Regions from separate parts of the Homo sapiens genome. Here regions 1 and 3 are each linked to region 2. Evidence: promoter capture Hi-C in 16 types of primary human blood cells and fetal thymus (Javierre and others, 2016). All regions are on one chromosome and are shown on one strand. The core of a region is centred on a gene start or on the middle of the fragment in contact, and the rest is flanking DNA. Distances in the headings are between cores, read along the strand shown. Region 1 overlaps UBP1 (upstream binding protein 1). Region 2 holds the start of GBE1 (1,4-alpha-glucan branching enzyme 1). Region 3 holds the start of NKIRAS1 (NFKB inhibitor interacting Ras like 1).

What was found. The method cuts DNA at HindIII sites, captures the fragments that hold promoters and counts their contacts. A CHiCAGO score of 5 or more calls a contact.
Region 1: a fragment that was not itself captured here is called in contact with the fragment with the promoter of GBE1 in region 2 in 1 of 17 cell types (non-activated CD4 T cells); the score reaches 5.7 in non-activated CD4 T cells.
Region 3: the fragment with the promoter of NKIRAS1 here is called in contact with the fragment with the promoter of GBE1 in region 2 in 1 of 17 cell types (naive CD8 T cells); the score reaches 6.2 in naive CD8 T cells.

Annotation. Positions count from the first base shown.
Region 1 is chr3:33,405,840-33,410,349 of GRCh38, reverse strand. It overlaps UBP1 (upstream binding protein 1), which reads left to right. Exons shown (of 16, transcript NM_014517.5): 6 at 749-901; 7 at 1,004-1,114; 8 at 1,553-1,660. It also overlaps a transcript of FBXL2 not described here. Among named protein-coding and RNA genes, the nearest start is that of UBP1, 32 kb to the left of the region's middle. The HindIII fragment of the contact is 1,663 bases long and covers 2,122-3,784 here.
Region 2 is chr3:81,758,307-81,763,154 of GRCh38, reverse strand. GBE1 (1,4-alpha-glucan branching enzyme 1) reads left to right here and starts at 1,510. Exons shown (of 16, transcript NM_000158.4): 1 at 1,510-1,780. The coding sequence starts at 1,638. RefSeq lists silencers at 1,282-1,381, 1,882-1,961, 4,543-4,837 and enhancers at 1,037-1,645, 1,432-1,721, 2,062-2,231. The HindIII fragment of the contact is 5,689 bases long and covers 809-4,848 here.
Region 3 is chr3:23,913,863-23,918,261 of GRCh38, reverse strand. It overlaps NKIRAS1 (NFKB inhibitor interacting Ras like 1), which reads left to right and starts at 1,272. Exons shown (of 5, transcript NM_020345.4): 1 at 1,272-1,478. RPL15 (ribosomal protein L15) reads right to left here and starts at 1,130. Exons shown (of 4, transcript NM_002948.5): 1 at 1,089-1,130; 2 at 231-412. The coding sequence starts at 402. RefSeq lists enhancers at 389-488, 418-1,617, 869-1,668. The HindIII fragment of the contact is 19,179 bases long and covers 1-4,399 here.

The DNA.
Region 1 (4,510 bases), core at 1,704-4,203, about 48 Mb after region 2:
CATATTGCAGAGATCAGTTTTAATAGTGAGTCATTAGAAGAGGGGGATGTGCAGCAGTCAGAAATGACCAAGGTCTTGCTGTTAACTCTGTGTGAAACCCTAAGGCTGTCATCCAGGGTGGGTATTAGGAGACAGGGCAGGAGTGGTGGAAGATGAGTATTGCCCTCTGGATCCTGAATGGACTTTGAAGAGTTGACCAAAGAGTTTAGATGGATACAGAATAGGATGGGTAGTGGGTTTTCTGGACTGTAAAATTTCCCCAGGCAAAGTATCACAAATTGGCATCTGTAGGAACAGCAGTAAGATAGTTGGCTGGGTAGAATAGGGGTAATGGCAGTAGAGGGCAAACAACAGAAGCTCTAAACAATGAAGTGAAGATTGCTGTGGATTGAACAGGGCTTAGTACCCTGGGTCTGAGATGAGCAGACAGTCCAAGGTGGAGGTGGGCAGTATACATAGGAAGCTACTGTAGTGTTGTACCCCTGATTGGACCCAAGTCCTGCATTAGAGGAGAGGCACTGTGATGGGCAAGAGCTCAGAAAGTCTGGAGAGGCTCAGTTGGATTTGTGAGAGGGAAGCCATATCTTAAAAACAATTAGGTTCATAGATAATTTGGCTAATATGTGTGATGAGTTTATTTTAAAGGATCTTGAATTTATAGTGGTGTCAGGTCACTCAAGAGGGAACAAAATAGAAAAATAACCAGTGGAAGTTCTTTGAATCCATTTCAGCCTGAATCGTTTTATAGGTACACTGCATCAGCACAGAATTTACTCCACGGAAGCACGGAGGTGAAAAGGGAGTGCCCTTTAGGATCCAGGTTGACACCTTTAAGCAGAATGAAAATGGAGAATACACAGATCATCTACACTCAGCTAGCTGCCAAATCAAAGTTTTTAAGGTAAGACAGAGAACCCGGGTTTTCTGTAATTAAGGCTCAGTTTTGCCTGTAAAGCTGTGTGTCTGCAGCCTGATAGATGAAATAGTATACTTTGTTTTTAAGCCTAAAGGTGCAGACAGGAAACAAAAAACTGACCGAGAGAAGATGGAGAAGAGAACAGCTCATGAAAAAGAAAAGTATCAGCCGTCCTATGATACCACAATCCTCACAGAGGTAATGTAGTAAAGCATTTGGTTTTGGAAGAGAAGCAAAGGTTGCATATTAGTCTATTTCTAAGATGAGTTCTGCTACAAAAGGGTTGGGGAAGATTGGGTGGCAGTTTGACATGTTATTCTCTGTGAAATTTCTGGGGAAAATATTTAAATTTGGGGATTTTGATAGACTGTTTCCTGGGTGGGATCTTAAATGAAGATGCTGAAATCCCAATGAGGTCTTAGAAACAGACCTTAAAAACTTTGAAGTTGGCAAGAGACTTAAGTTGGAGCCTAGAAAGTCCAATTTTTGTCACTGCTGGGGTTTTGCATTTTTTTTAACTTTGAATCCTGTTAGTCATGCATTTGTTTAATTGGACTGAAGAGACATGAAACAGGGTGTTAGATCTTTCTTTGTATAATGAAAAGACATTGATCCCAATCTTTGGTGTTTGTCCAGATGAGGCTTGAGCCTATAATTGAAGATGCAGTTGAACATGAGCAGAAAAAGTCCAGCAAGCGGACTTTGCCAGCAGACTACGGTGATTCTCTGGCAAAGCGAGGCAGTGTAAGGGACTTCTGCTTCTCTTTTCATTGTGCAAGAAACCTTGTGCAGTGTTAGATATAGGACCAACTTCCACCGCAAAGTAAAGCCAAAATTGTTTTTGATGTCCATGTCTTGATTTAATTTGCTTTTGTTTAGACTTCCTGCTTCTGTTTGTTCCTCACTGAGGAAAATTTCCTAAATCTAACACTTTAAAACAAAGCAAAAAACAATGTTGACCATATTGGGTGGTTTTGGAGGGAAAAAAAGACACTCAGAGATATGTATTCCCTCCCTGACTCCTTCCCTTCCTCCTTCCCTCCCTCTCTCCTTCACACACACACCTCCTTCAAGAGCACTGAAATTAATTGAAAATACTTTCTTTAGTAAATTAGCTATTATTTTTGTGTAACTGAAAAGGGTCTTGCTTTCTCATGTGTATACTTGATAAAATTTTGTGGACAGTTAGATGATGGCAGCAAGCTTGACATTAACACGTGCAGTTCTTTGTTACATTTTTCTGCATGTAGTATAAAAATGTGTGTCTGTCTATGCTTCTAAGAGCCTGTTTGGCAGCACTGGTAGAAAAAAAAAAACTCTGATGGGATTCATGTTTCTTCTTGGCAGTTGCATTGTGAATTAATGCTTCAGGCCAAAGTAGTGTACCTTGCTACACCTAGACCTGGGCCGCCCCCAATATGCAGTCAGGGGGCATCTGGTTGAATATGTGCTTTGTCCAGTTAAGTATAGCAAATCTTTATTTTATGACATGACTCTTCATCTATTAGTCCACAAACGATGATCCTGCTTTGCAAACTTAGATCAGCTACATACCTTCAGTAAATATAAACACAGAACATTAAAGAATCATTTAAAATAATTGTCATCATATGTATTCGTGACTGCTGTATTCACTGTTGCAGTCTTTGCACTATTAAAGTACCAGAGGATTTTTCATTCTTACACATATCGCAATTGCTGTGGTTAAATGTAGACTTTGAATGTTACTGTCACAAGCACTATCACAAGAAACTCATTTCCAATTATAGTATCGAATAAAAATGTTTTAATGCTTCTCTATGCAATGAAACTGAAATTGTACTCATCCTAGTGCCACTGGAAGCACACGTTACATTTTCTTTAACTGGGCTTTTTTTTTTTTTTTTAAATAAATTCGAATCAAAGATTGTTAAAACAGCTGTATATTCTTTCCTAAAACACCCGCCCCAGCAATTTTGTTTTTATCCTCTTCTGATTTCTCAGCTGAAGACCCACCAATGGTTCTTAGTAAACTTCTTTGGGGGGGATTCTGGCAACTCACTTTTCCTCTCCTGTTATAAACCATTTAACTAATAAAGAAGTAGGTTCTGGTAATTCCTAAATAAAAGAAATTCATTATAGCCCAGAGGTAATCTGAAGATGGGAAAACTGTTGGTAAATTCTTAATGATTCTTAAGTCTAAAGTATGCAAAACGTCAGCAGTTCACTGGCCTGGGATTTCACATCTTCCTCATGTATTGCTTACTGCCCTGGCTGTATTTGATTTTGTTCAGATGCTTTTAGGGGTGGTTAGAGCTCATCTTGAAAACCTGTTTTTAAAAATGCAGGGTACAGATTGTCACTTAAAAAGGAAAGTTTGCAGAATTTCATATGTTTCTTCAAACTCCTACAAAGGAAGGCCAACATTTCATAGAGTTTTTGGCTAGTTACAATTGGCTTTCAGTAAAAAGGGATATCCAGACTTACTGTTAGAGTCGAAAAGATGCCGAATGAAATGGTGCCACACTGAATAGTCACTACTGTTGGTTACCAGGAGATGCCGTACAACAAAACTCTTAGTGTGTCTGTTGGTCTTCATCTCTGAGCTGTATATGATTGGCTCAAATGATGACTGCCAATTTCTACAGCCTAAAATGGGTGATCATTCTTTACCTGGGGAGGGACTGTGTTCACAGTGTACCGAAACCATAACTATGAGCCCAGGCCAGGCATTGCTAGCGCCGTTATGAATTCAGGAGCATAGGCACTGCACCATCGCTTGCTTTTCGAATGTTAGAAGAATCTAAATATCTAAAAGCAAAATGGGTATTTATGGAGTTTTGGTAAACTTGGTGTTTCTACATTACTCTGCCATGCTAACTTGAAGCTTTTTGATGGCTTCATTTCTTCAAATGGCTGGCAATAATTACAAAAAGTTTAGAGAGACTTGATACTTTTAATATTAAATGGTTTACATTATTTATACATGTATGTTATGCTGTGTTATGTTTTATATGTGCAGGGGGATGTTGTAGCAGGAAAATCTTTCAGATAGTAGAGGTGAGGTGACAGTGTGTGATACCCATGATTAGATTTGCTAGTCAGCTCACAGGGTCTTGGGTTCATCAAACAGTGTAAACTGAGGAGGTGATACTTTGTAAGGTGGAAAGAAAAACAAGGGTCTAGTTTTTTAGTTATTTATTTATTTTTTTGAGATGGGCTTTCACTGTATTGCCAAGGCTGACCTCAATCTCCTCAAGCAGTCCTCCTGCCTCAGACTTCTGAGTAGTTGGACCACAGGTGTGTGTGTGCCATCACACCTGGCTTAAAAGGCCCTAATTTTAAAAGAATGGGCATTGTTGTGTAAAATGTAATTTATAGCAAAGTTGCTATGCCATGCAATAAGTTTATTCAAAGCTCTCCAGCTAAATTAGATTTCTTTTTTGAAAGCTGACTGATAATAGAAGTAATAAGTCTGCAATCATTTTTCTTTTTTAAGGAGATACATAATTGGGTAGTTGAGATTATTTTCCATGTATCCATTGCTTTTGATGGATGTCAGACAAGCGTTTTAAGCCCCTGTAGCCATTGGTGAGACTTAATTTCTGCCCTCAG
Region 2 (4,848 bases), core at 261-2,760:
TTAGAGAGCTACATTCTGGTCCAAGTGAAGGAAAACAGTGGCCTGCATAAGAGTGACAGCAGGAAGGATGAGAAGACGGATTCTAGGTCACGTTTTGCAGACAGTTTGTTTAGGTCTCCTAGCCAGCTAAATGGAAATCTCAGTAGACAGGCAGTGATACAAGCCTGGGTTTCTGAAAAAAGTTTAGGCTTGGAGATGTAGATCTGTGGGTCTGTTATTAATAGTTGTCCTGCTTCGGGTTTTTATTTTTTTTTAATTTTCTTCCTTTTTTAGTGCTTTATATTTTACAAATGTCTGCAGCAGTTTTTTGTCATCTTTATGGAAAACAAGGCACGTCTTAAAGTCGTTCAAGTCCTTCACTTTTTCACACTGAGGTCTGTCTTCATATCCACTTATCTTTCAAGTCTATGAAACCCCTTATAAAAACTTTCCTTTGAAATATTTTAAAATTCAAGGCCCACGGCTGATTAATACTGTTTCTCCTCCATAACCCCTAGGATCCTCCAGTTCTGGGTTTTAACAAGAAAAATATCCTCAATCCTCTCTAGTTTCTAGGTGTAAAGCAGCTTGGACCCTCCTGGGTTTGGTGGGTCCATCTCTCTTGGAGTCCAACTCTGTATTCCTAAAAAGCAATTATTGAAATAGAAGCTAGTCAGTTAATGGCAATAAAAGAAGGGAATTCCAAGTGGGAGCTTCCCAAGCCAAGAGGAAGAGAGGTTTCTTGCCTTATCACTGTAAGTGGCAGAGTGGAGTTCCAATTCAATGATATCATTTGTGTTATCAAAGGTAGTTTAATCGTTGAAAAGCTTGTTAACAATTATAAACACAGGCAAATGCCTTTTCCTTTTTGGCCTTACGGAGAATGAGAAAAGTTCTTCCCATGGCTAAAATTCTTAGCTGTTGGTAATGCAGAAAAGAGTACCAGAACAGCAGAATTCCAACGGTATTCCAGGATTCTGTGTCTTGGTTAATTTTAAATTCACGTGACCTGGCAAACTTAGGAGAGTCCTGGTTGTAAGAGGTATTAACATTTTCAGCAGTAGTACTCTAGCTACACTTGACTGTTCCCCTCTCTGTGAATTTACATGATATGTTTGAAATACTGCCCCTCAAAAGTCTCAGAACTTTGAGAAATACGGTCCTTTCCAAAAAAACCCCTTATGTCCAATTTGAAGGGGTCGCTGTCAGTGGGTGCTTAAGTGGGTAAAGAAAAGCCAAGAATATGTCAGGGTGAGGAAGGCCAAGGCTGAGCGAGGTCAGCTTGGGACCCACCTCCTAGAATGACCTCCGCCAGCAGGAAAAAACCGTTAAGGGGAGGAAAGGGCAGGTCCCTGCGGCCTCCAGGTGCCAGCCGCGTGAGTGGGCGGAGAGGCCTCGGTGCCTCCTACCCGCTCCGGACGTGCGTCCCGGCATCACCCCGGGATCCGCTCCTCCCCGCTGGCGGGGGGAGAAAGGGCAGGAGGCCTTCCGTCCCGGCTATAAAGGGCCCCGGACCGCCGCGGCTCGCCTCGGCTTGCCTCGACACGCCTAGGCGCCCTCCGGCTCCGCCCTAGCCGCCGCGTCCCAGCTAGAGCTCCAGCGCCCGCTCAGGCCCCACTCGACCTCTCGGGCCTCGGCTACTTGGACTGCGGCGGAATATGGCGGCTCCGATGACTCCCGCGGCTCGGCCCGAGGACTACGAGGCGGCGCTCAATGCCGCCCTGGCTGACGTGCCCGAACTGGCCAGACTCCTGGAGATCGACCCGTACTTGAAGCCCTACGCCGTGGACTTCCAGCGCAGGTACCGCCGGAATCCCACCACCCCCACTTAGACAGGCAGCCCGCCTCCCAGGAGCCGTCTCGGGACACGGGCCGCCCCTCGGCCCTCGCGCGCCAACCCCGCCCCAGGCGGGGAGGAACCTGAGTGGGCGGGGCTCGGGGTGACTCGGGTAACCGGGTTCTGTGGCTTCCGTAGTGGCAGGTTTGACAGCGCTGGTGCCCGGAGCGGGCGCTGAAGAAACTTCTTTCCTCATCCCCTTTCCCCTCTGTTCTAATCAGCGGTCTTGCGCCATAGGGTACGTGCTGTGGCTCCAACACTTATTCCCCAGAGTGCTGCTGGGGAGTGACTCACCGCCGCTGCAGGTTTTCTGACTTTGGCACCCACTAGCGTGGGCCTGTGGAGTAACGTGGGCATAACTCCTGGCACGTGTAATTACGCATTTAAAACTTTCTAGTTTATTTCATAGCAAATGTTGTGATTTTATATCTAAGAGGATTCCTTCAGGCAGACACTATATCCTTTTGTTTTTTCCTTGCTAATATTCCTCATTTAGGGGAAGATTACACCTACATTGATCAATTTTTTCTCCCCTTGGATCAACATTGAGAAGTTAAATGTACATCAACATTTGTCCGTGTGTGACTTTAACCATCTTGAAGAGGGAGAAAGGTCAGGAAAGCAACTTTTACAGGCCAATGTCGTTTTAGCTTGTCTTCTACCATTGTGTACCATACAACTTTAGTTACTGGGCTAATAATTCTATTCATAAGTTCCACTAAAAAGGTACAGGTCTTTTTCTGTTGTCGTTGTTGTTTGAAGTAAAAGAGCTATTATACAAGTTGTAATAGTTATACTTGTGAGGTTACCCCATTTTGATTTAATAGTTTCTCCCCTTTTAGGAGAGACACTGCAGAATGGAAACTATCCTGGCAACAGAATATACATGGCCAATTTTTCGAGTGATGGAAAACATCCAACTAGTTAACTGGCATGAAGGAGCGTTGAGAGTAATGAAAATGGGTTGATTTGGAGTTTGAAAAAAGCCCAGCAAATTGTTTGTGTCCTAGCATTTTCAGGTATTAAATGCATTCAAATCAGCAAGTGTTTATTGAGGAACTCCTATAAATAAAACACTGCTCTAGGGATTGTAAGGGATGTGAAGTTTCATTCTTGAGCTTGTATATAGTAGTGAATGAGGCCTCTGTAAAATAATCACCTTGAGCTGTCCCTCACTTAATCAGATGATTATGCTCTTATATAAACCATATGAGGAGCAGCCTTGTGAAATTGTTTTCAGAATTTACAGTATATGCTTTCAGAGAAACTTAGTGCATAATCGTCATAGGTTTAAGGTTGGATTTGATTTAGAAATAGTCAGAAAAAATTTAGAACAAAAGATAGTGATTAAAGGTAGTGGTTAGATTTTTTTTTTGATGTCCTTGTAACCATGACATTAATTTACCTGTGTGCTTTGTAAAAGGACACTTAAGATATTTATTAAAGAAGAGTTGTGGAAATGTTTTATCTACACCCCCTTCCTTTTTTTTTTAAATGACACAAACAGATTAACATTCTTTATTAAGTGTTTCTTTCATGTACTTTATTTCCAACTCCACTGGGATTGAAGCATTTATAATCTTCTTTCATGGTTTGCCAAAACTAATGAAGGGAACAAAGGCCAAGATAAAGAAGGGAAGAGAATCCAGTGTGCTTGGTGAAAAGTCTCGTCCAGTGGGCCCTCATGCCTCACTCTGACCCGGATTTTACTTTTGTCCTTGGTTCTGAGTAATGGCCATTTGCTAGCATACATGTTCCATTTAGGCATATCAAATAGTAATTTGGCATTTGTTAGTGGTAACTTCTATTGTTAACACTTGAAGAATAAAACATTTTTCCTTCATACAATCTGGTCTTAGTTCCTTGTCCAATTTTCCATTTATTTCTGATAATCCATTTGGACTGTGTGTCTTTGGCCTAACACAAATACATAACCAGTCAAACACTTAGGTGCAAAGTATGCTTACTAAGGAGTGAAGAAAATTTGAGGTACAAACAACAGTATATAATTAAGGTGATGAAGAAGGAAATTTCTCTTTGATGGACTGTCTCATCCTTCCCCAACAGATATCTTTTGATTTGAAATTTTTTGGATGTTCCCTTAGGATGTTTTGGATGTTCCTTCCCTTCTTTACCTTGGCCTTTTCCCCTTCTGTATTAGTCCGTTTTCATGCTGCTGATAAAGACATACCTGAGACTGGGCAATTTACAAAAGGAAGAGGTTTATTGGACTTACAGTTCCAAGTGGCTGAGGATGCCTCGCAATCATGGCAGAAGGTGAAAGTCATGTCTCACATGGTGGCAGACAAGAGAAGAGAGCTTGTGCAGGGAAACTCCCCTTTTTAAAACCATCAGGTCTCGTGAGACTTACTTACTATCAGGAGAACAGCGTGGGAAAGACCTGCCCCCATGATTCAGTTACCTCCCATCAGGTCCCTCCCACAACACGTGGGAATTCAAGATGAGATCTGAGTGGGGACACAACCAAACCATATCACCTTCATTAGTTGTTCTTTTCACCTTCTGTACCTGTGAGAATTTTGAATCAAGTGTAGAGGATTAATGAGTTACTCTGCTATAAAATAAAAATTAGTACATTATTAGCATGACTGACCACCTCCATGTTGTCTCATTGATGACCTCCCAAAATAGCATTTTCCACTTGATTTTTCTACCTTTTATTTAGTTATTTACTTGTTGTTACACTACAATTAGTTGTTATAATTCCAAAATCTTAGTGCTTTAAAACAACATTTAATTGTTCCCATATTACATGTCAGCATGAGTCAGCCAGAGGGCCCTCCTCATGGCAGTCACTCAAAAATCTAGGCTTATGAAGGATTTGTTTTGAAACATGCTTCTGTAGAGGTGGTCACAGTGCAAAGAGAAGCATGTTGAACTATGCACTATTTCTTACAGCTTTTGCCTAGCAGTGAGTCCATTCTGCTGATACGTTACATTGGCCAGTGCCCATCAGCTTGCCATGTGGGTGAAACAGAGAATTGGCATTTGTGAACATTGTCAAAACAACA
Region 3 (4,399 bases), core at 23-2,522, about 58 Mb after region 2:
AGGCACACTGTTTATTTTGCTTTAGTCTGAACTCATTCAGATTTGTAACCTTTGACACACTTGCCACTTTAGACAACAGTGCATACAGTAACTGACCAGTGTTGCTAGCTTTTTTCTGCCAAAGCCCTATGCGAAGAAAGACACTGAGGCAGCAGTGTCTTCCTAACAGCTGGTTTCCAACTTTTCTCGAATATAATTTTATCCAAGCATCCACGCAGTCGATCACGTACCTTGCTTGGCCTTGTAGCCCAGTCGGCGCGCTTTATCAGGCCGGGTGGGGCGGGGAGCCCTGTGGAGAGCAGAGAGCTGGCGGTACTGCCAGCAGCGGACCCTCAGAAGAAAGCGCATGACATCAGACTGCTTCTTTCTCCATAGCTCCTGGATGTACTTGTATGCACCCATCTTGGCTTACCTGTGAAATCAAACTGTGTATTAAATATCATCCGCTTTAAGTACAATAAGACGACTGTATCCGTCCATCTTAGTTCCCCAACAAAAACAAGGAAACCGCCGGGAATGAAAATGGCTCTGCACCAACTGCCGGGGACAGCTAGCCCAACCCCCACCACTGCGCCCACGGAGCCGCGTTCAGTCACTTCCGCAACCCCAGCACAGAGCGGTGCTCGGCACGTTTTGGTGGGGCGAATTAACAGAACCAGAACTGAGCACCAAGGGGGCGGGTGGCTGCGGCAGGCGGCGTCCCCAAGGAGGACCTGAAAGGAGATGCCGCTGACATCACAGGACAAGGTACTGCTGCGGCCACCGAGGATTAACTCTCGAGGAAAATGCATCTACCCCACCCAACCAGCAGCCTCACTTTAGGCTGCCTTGTCCCGGGCGCCCCATTCGTCAGCCCCACGCCTCCTCCAGGATCCGGGCCCAGCTCGAATTCGCGCCGCCATCACATCTTCGCTCAACCCGCCCCGGGGGCCGCCTCTCCACCCCTTTGCTGTCCCGCATCCTGACCAAACTCTGGCCGCACAGGAGGGAGACCTATCTCCGAGGACGCAGGGTCCCCGGACCTGGATGGCTGAAGAGGAAGACGATCAAAGGCGGATGGAAGAGCAAAGATCCTCAACGCAGCCTACCTGATGGCTGCCGCCAGACGGAAAGGAAAGAGCTGTACTCCCACAATGCCTTTTGGGCTCCTCCCCCACCTCAGCCACCCTCTTTCCGGTGGAAAGCTGCGGCCTCCCAGAGCGTCATGGGACATGTAGTTCCGGCATCGCGCCTGGTGGCGGAGTTCTGCCGAGTGGGGCGCCGCGGCCGCTATTGTCCCGCCCCCTGCTCCGCAAGATTCGAGCCTGAGCGGCCTGGGCGTCTCGAGAGGTGAGAGAGTTGGCGGCGAGGTCTCGGCGGCTAAGCGAGCGTCGGCGACTGTCTCTCCGCGAGAGGAGGCAAGTTGGGGTCCAGGCTCCAAAGCCGGTGGCCGCGTACCGCGGTGGAGCCGCTGTCTTTGAGGTCTGAGGAGAGAACAGGTTTGTTTCACGCACCGCGGGCTCTCCCCCTGCGGAGTCTCTGCGTCTCCGCGTCTCCGCGCTGCGCTGTCCCTCTCTGGCCACCGCACGACGGGCGCAGAAATCTGGGCCCCAGAGCTGCGCTGAGAGATCCCCCGACGCTTCCCCAGCCTCCCAGGGAGGCCTTCGCGGAGTCGGGGCGTCGCGGGTCGGGGCGCTCGCTGTGTCCCTTCAGCTCCAGACTGCGTGAAGCTCCTCCAGCAGGCCCCAGCGCCCAGGGATTTTGTCCTAAAAAAGGGTCATGGAGTGGGTGGATTGCGGGCGGCCCGGCGCTTTTTCTGCATACGGATTTCGTCCCAAATTTGCTAACATGAGAACCACAGTTTTTCAGAAGAGCAGAATGTTTATTTGCCAAGACCTGTTTGGCAGGTGTGAATGTTTTAGAGAAGAAATGCCGAGAAAATGCTGGCATTTTGCGTTGCGGGTTTTTTTTTAAATTGAGAAATAGGTTACTGGCTTACTTTGTTTCTCCAGAATATTTTCACTTGGCTTTAATTTAAGTCATGTGGCTTTAATTTCCTTCCAGATTATGCGTTCAGATGTGGCAAAGGCTTAAGAGAATCATTATCTCTTAATCGTAGCGGTTTTGATTATCTTTTTTCCCACATCATATTTTTCTTTCTTTCTTTTTAAATCACAGCTTTACGTTTTTAAGAGTCTCTATCTGGTTCATTGATTGATTCAACAAATATTTATTAAGTGTCTAATATGTGCCAGGCATAGTTGCTGGGGATGCAGCAGGAAACAACGCAGAATTTTTGGCCTTCTTGGAAATGGGCAGTAAGCAGAAGTAAGCTGTGTTTTGGGTTTGGTGGTAAATGCTAAGGAAAAAAGATAAGGGGAGGGAAGTGATGAGGGAGTGTTAGCGGCTGAGGGTTGCAATTTGGAATGGAGTGTCCAGGTTAAGTCTTTGAGAGAAGGTAACATTTAAGAAAGGACTTCAAGGATAGGAGTCTGGGAGTAAGAGTAGGGGTCTGATTCAGGCAGAGGGAGAAGAGCCATGACTGGAGCATGCAAGATTAATAGAGGAACAGCAGGGAAGCAGTGTGGCTGAAATTCACAGTAGGGGAAAGTGGGAAATGACGTCGGAGAGGTGAAGGTTCTCACATGGACTTTGGATTTCATTGGCAGATTTTGAACAGAAGGATGACTTCATATGGCGTACATTTTAAAAAGATAACTCGGATTGCTCCTTTTGAGGCTAAAAGGAGAGAAAAAATGGAAGCAGAGAGACTGCTTAGGAAATTGTGTTAGTCTTCCATTGCTCCTGTAACAAATTTCAGCAACTTTGTTGGTTAATAATACAAATTTACCGTCTTTTAGTTTGTACATCAGACTAGGTCTGTAAATCTGTAAATATCACCAAGCTAAAACCAAAGTCAGTAGGGCTGTGTTCCTTCTGGAGGTACTAGGGGAGAGTACATTTATTTCCTTGGCTTTTCCACCTTATGAAGCCTGCCTGAATTCCTTGGCTCCTGACTGCTTCCTTCATCTTCACAGCCAGCAAAGGAGCATCTTCCAATTACACCTTCTGTCCTCTCCAGCACTCCTGTGTGTCTCTTATAAAGACACTTGTGATTACACTGGGCCCACCTAGATAATTCAGGATAATATCTTCGTATGGAAGTTCTTAATTTAATCACCCCCGCAAAATTCTTGTATGAGTATGTAAAGTAAACATATTCACAGGTTTGGGGGATTACGATATCTTTGAGAGACCAGGTGAGAGAACATGGTGCCTCACCCAGACCACTTCAGTAGTGATGAAAATGGTAAGTAGTGCAGCCCTGTATGTATTTCAAAGGTGAGGATGACTAAAAAGTTGAATGTGCTACTGTAGGTACGCTGCCTATGGGCGTAGTCCTGCTCCTAAAGGAGCAGTAAAAATAAAATTTAAAAAGTTGGATGAATCATTTGGAAAAACAATTCTAGTAGTGTGAATAATCACTGCTAATTTATCAATCACATTTGCAGTTTTGTTTCTCAATTTGTAGTTTCTCAGTTAACAGTTTTACAAGATTTGGATTTGTGTTTCCAGTTGATTTTGAGATTCCTGAGGACAAGGGATGATTTCTGTTTTTGCCCCCTAGTTTGTCCCTGATGGCTGGCATGATGGCAGGCCCTCAGTAAATGTTTGGTAAATGAATAAAAGAATGGTAAGCTAGAATCTGCTTTATTACATTTTATTTTGTGCAATACTGTGTGCAAAACCTGTTGAATATATTTTTATGTATGTAAATATATTCATATATGGATAAGTGAAAGTATTCCACACTATACATAATGTTGACATAAGTAAATACACAGTGTAGGTGGTTTCCCCACATGACAGTATTTTTAGAGATTTATAACATCTCTCCTATGATGTTAACAGTGTTTTGGTATTGTTTTTCTGGTTGCGTCAGAAAGTTGTGTTTTACTTATAAAAATAGAATGGCCCACTTACATAGAAGAACAGAAGCAATAACGGTTTTGGGGAGCTGTTTCTGATGGCTCTTCAAAGAAAATGTTGACAAAGCATTTCACAGGAATGGACCAGGTCATATATTTACTCTCTGTTTTTTTTTTTTTTTAGCCTCAAGTTGGAGAGAGGAGGTTGTATTTATTCTCTAGCAATGTTATTGATTAGCCTGGAAAGTAAAGCAATAAGTATTTAAGACTGCCCTGAATCTTGCCTATTAAGCACGTTCTCTTAGTAATTTACATCAGGTGAGGTTTAATAGGTCACAGATTGAATTTTATTGCCCAGTTTCTTAGGGTAGGGATGTGACAAGTAGCTGTAACTACTGCTTTTTGTGTTCACCTCAGTGTTGATGTATTCTCTGGATAAGCAACTTCTAATATCATGGCATCACAGTGTTGAAAGGAACCTAAAGGTGACC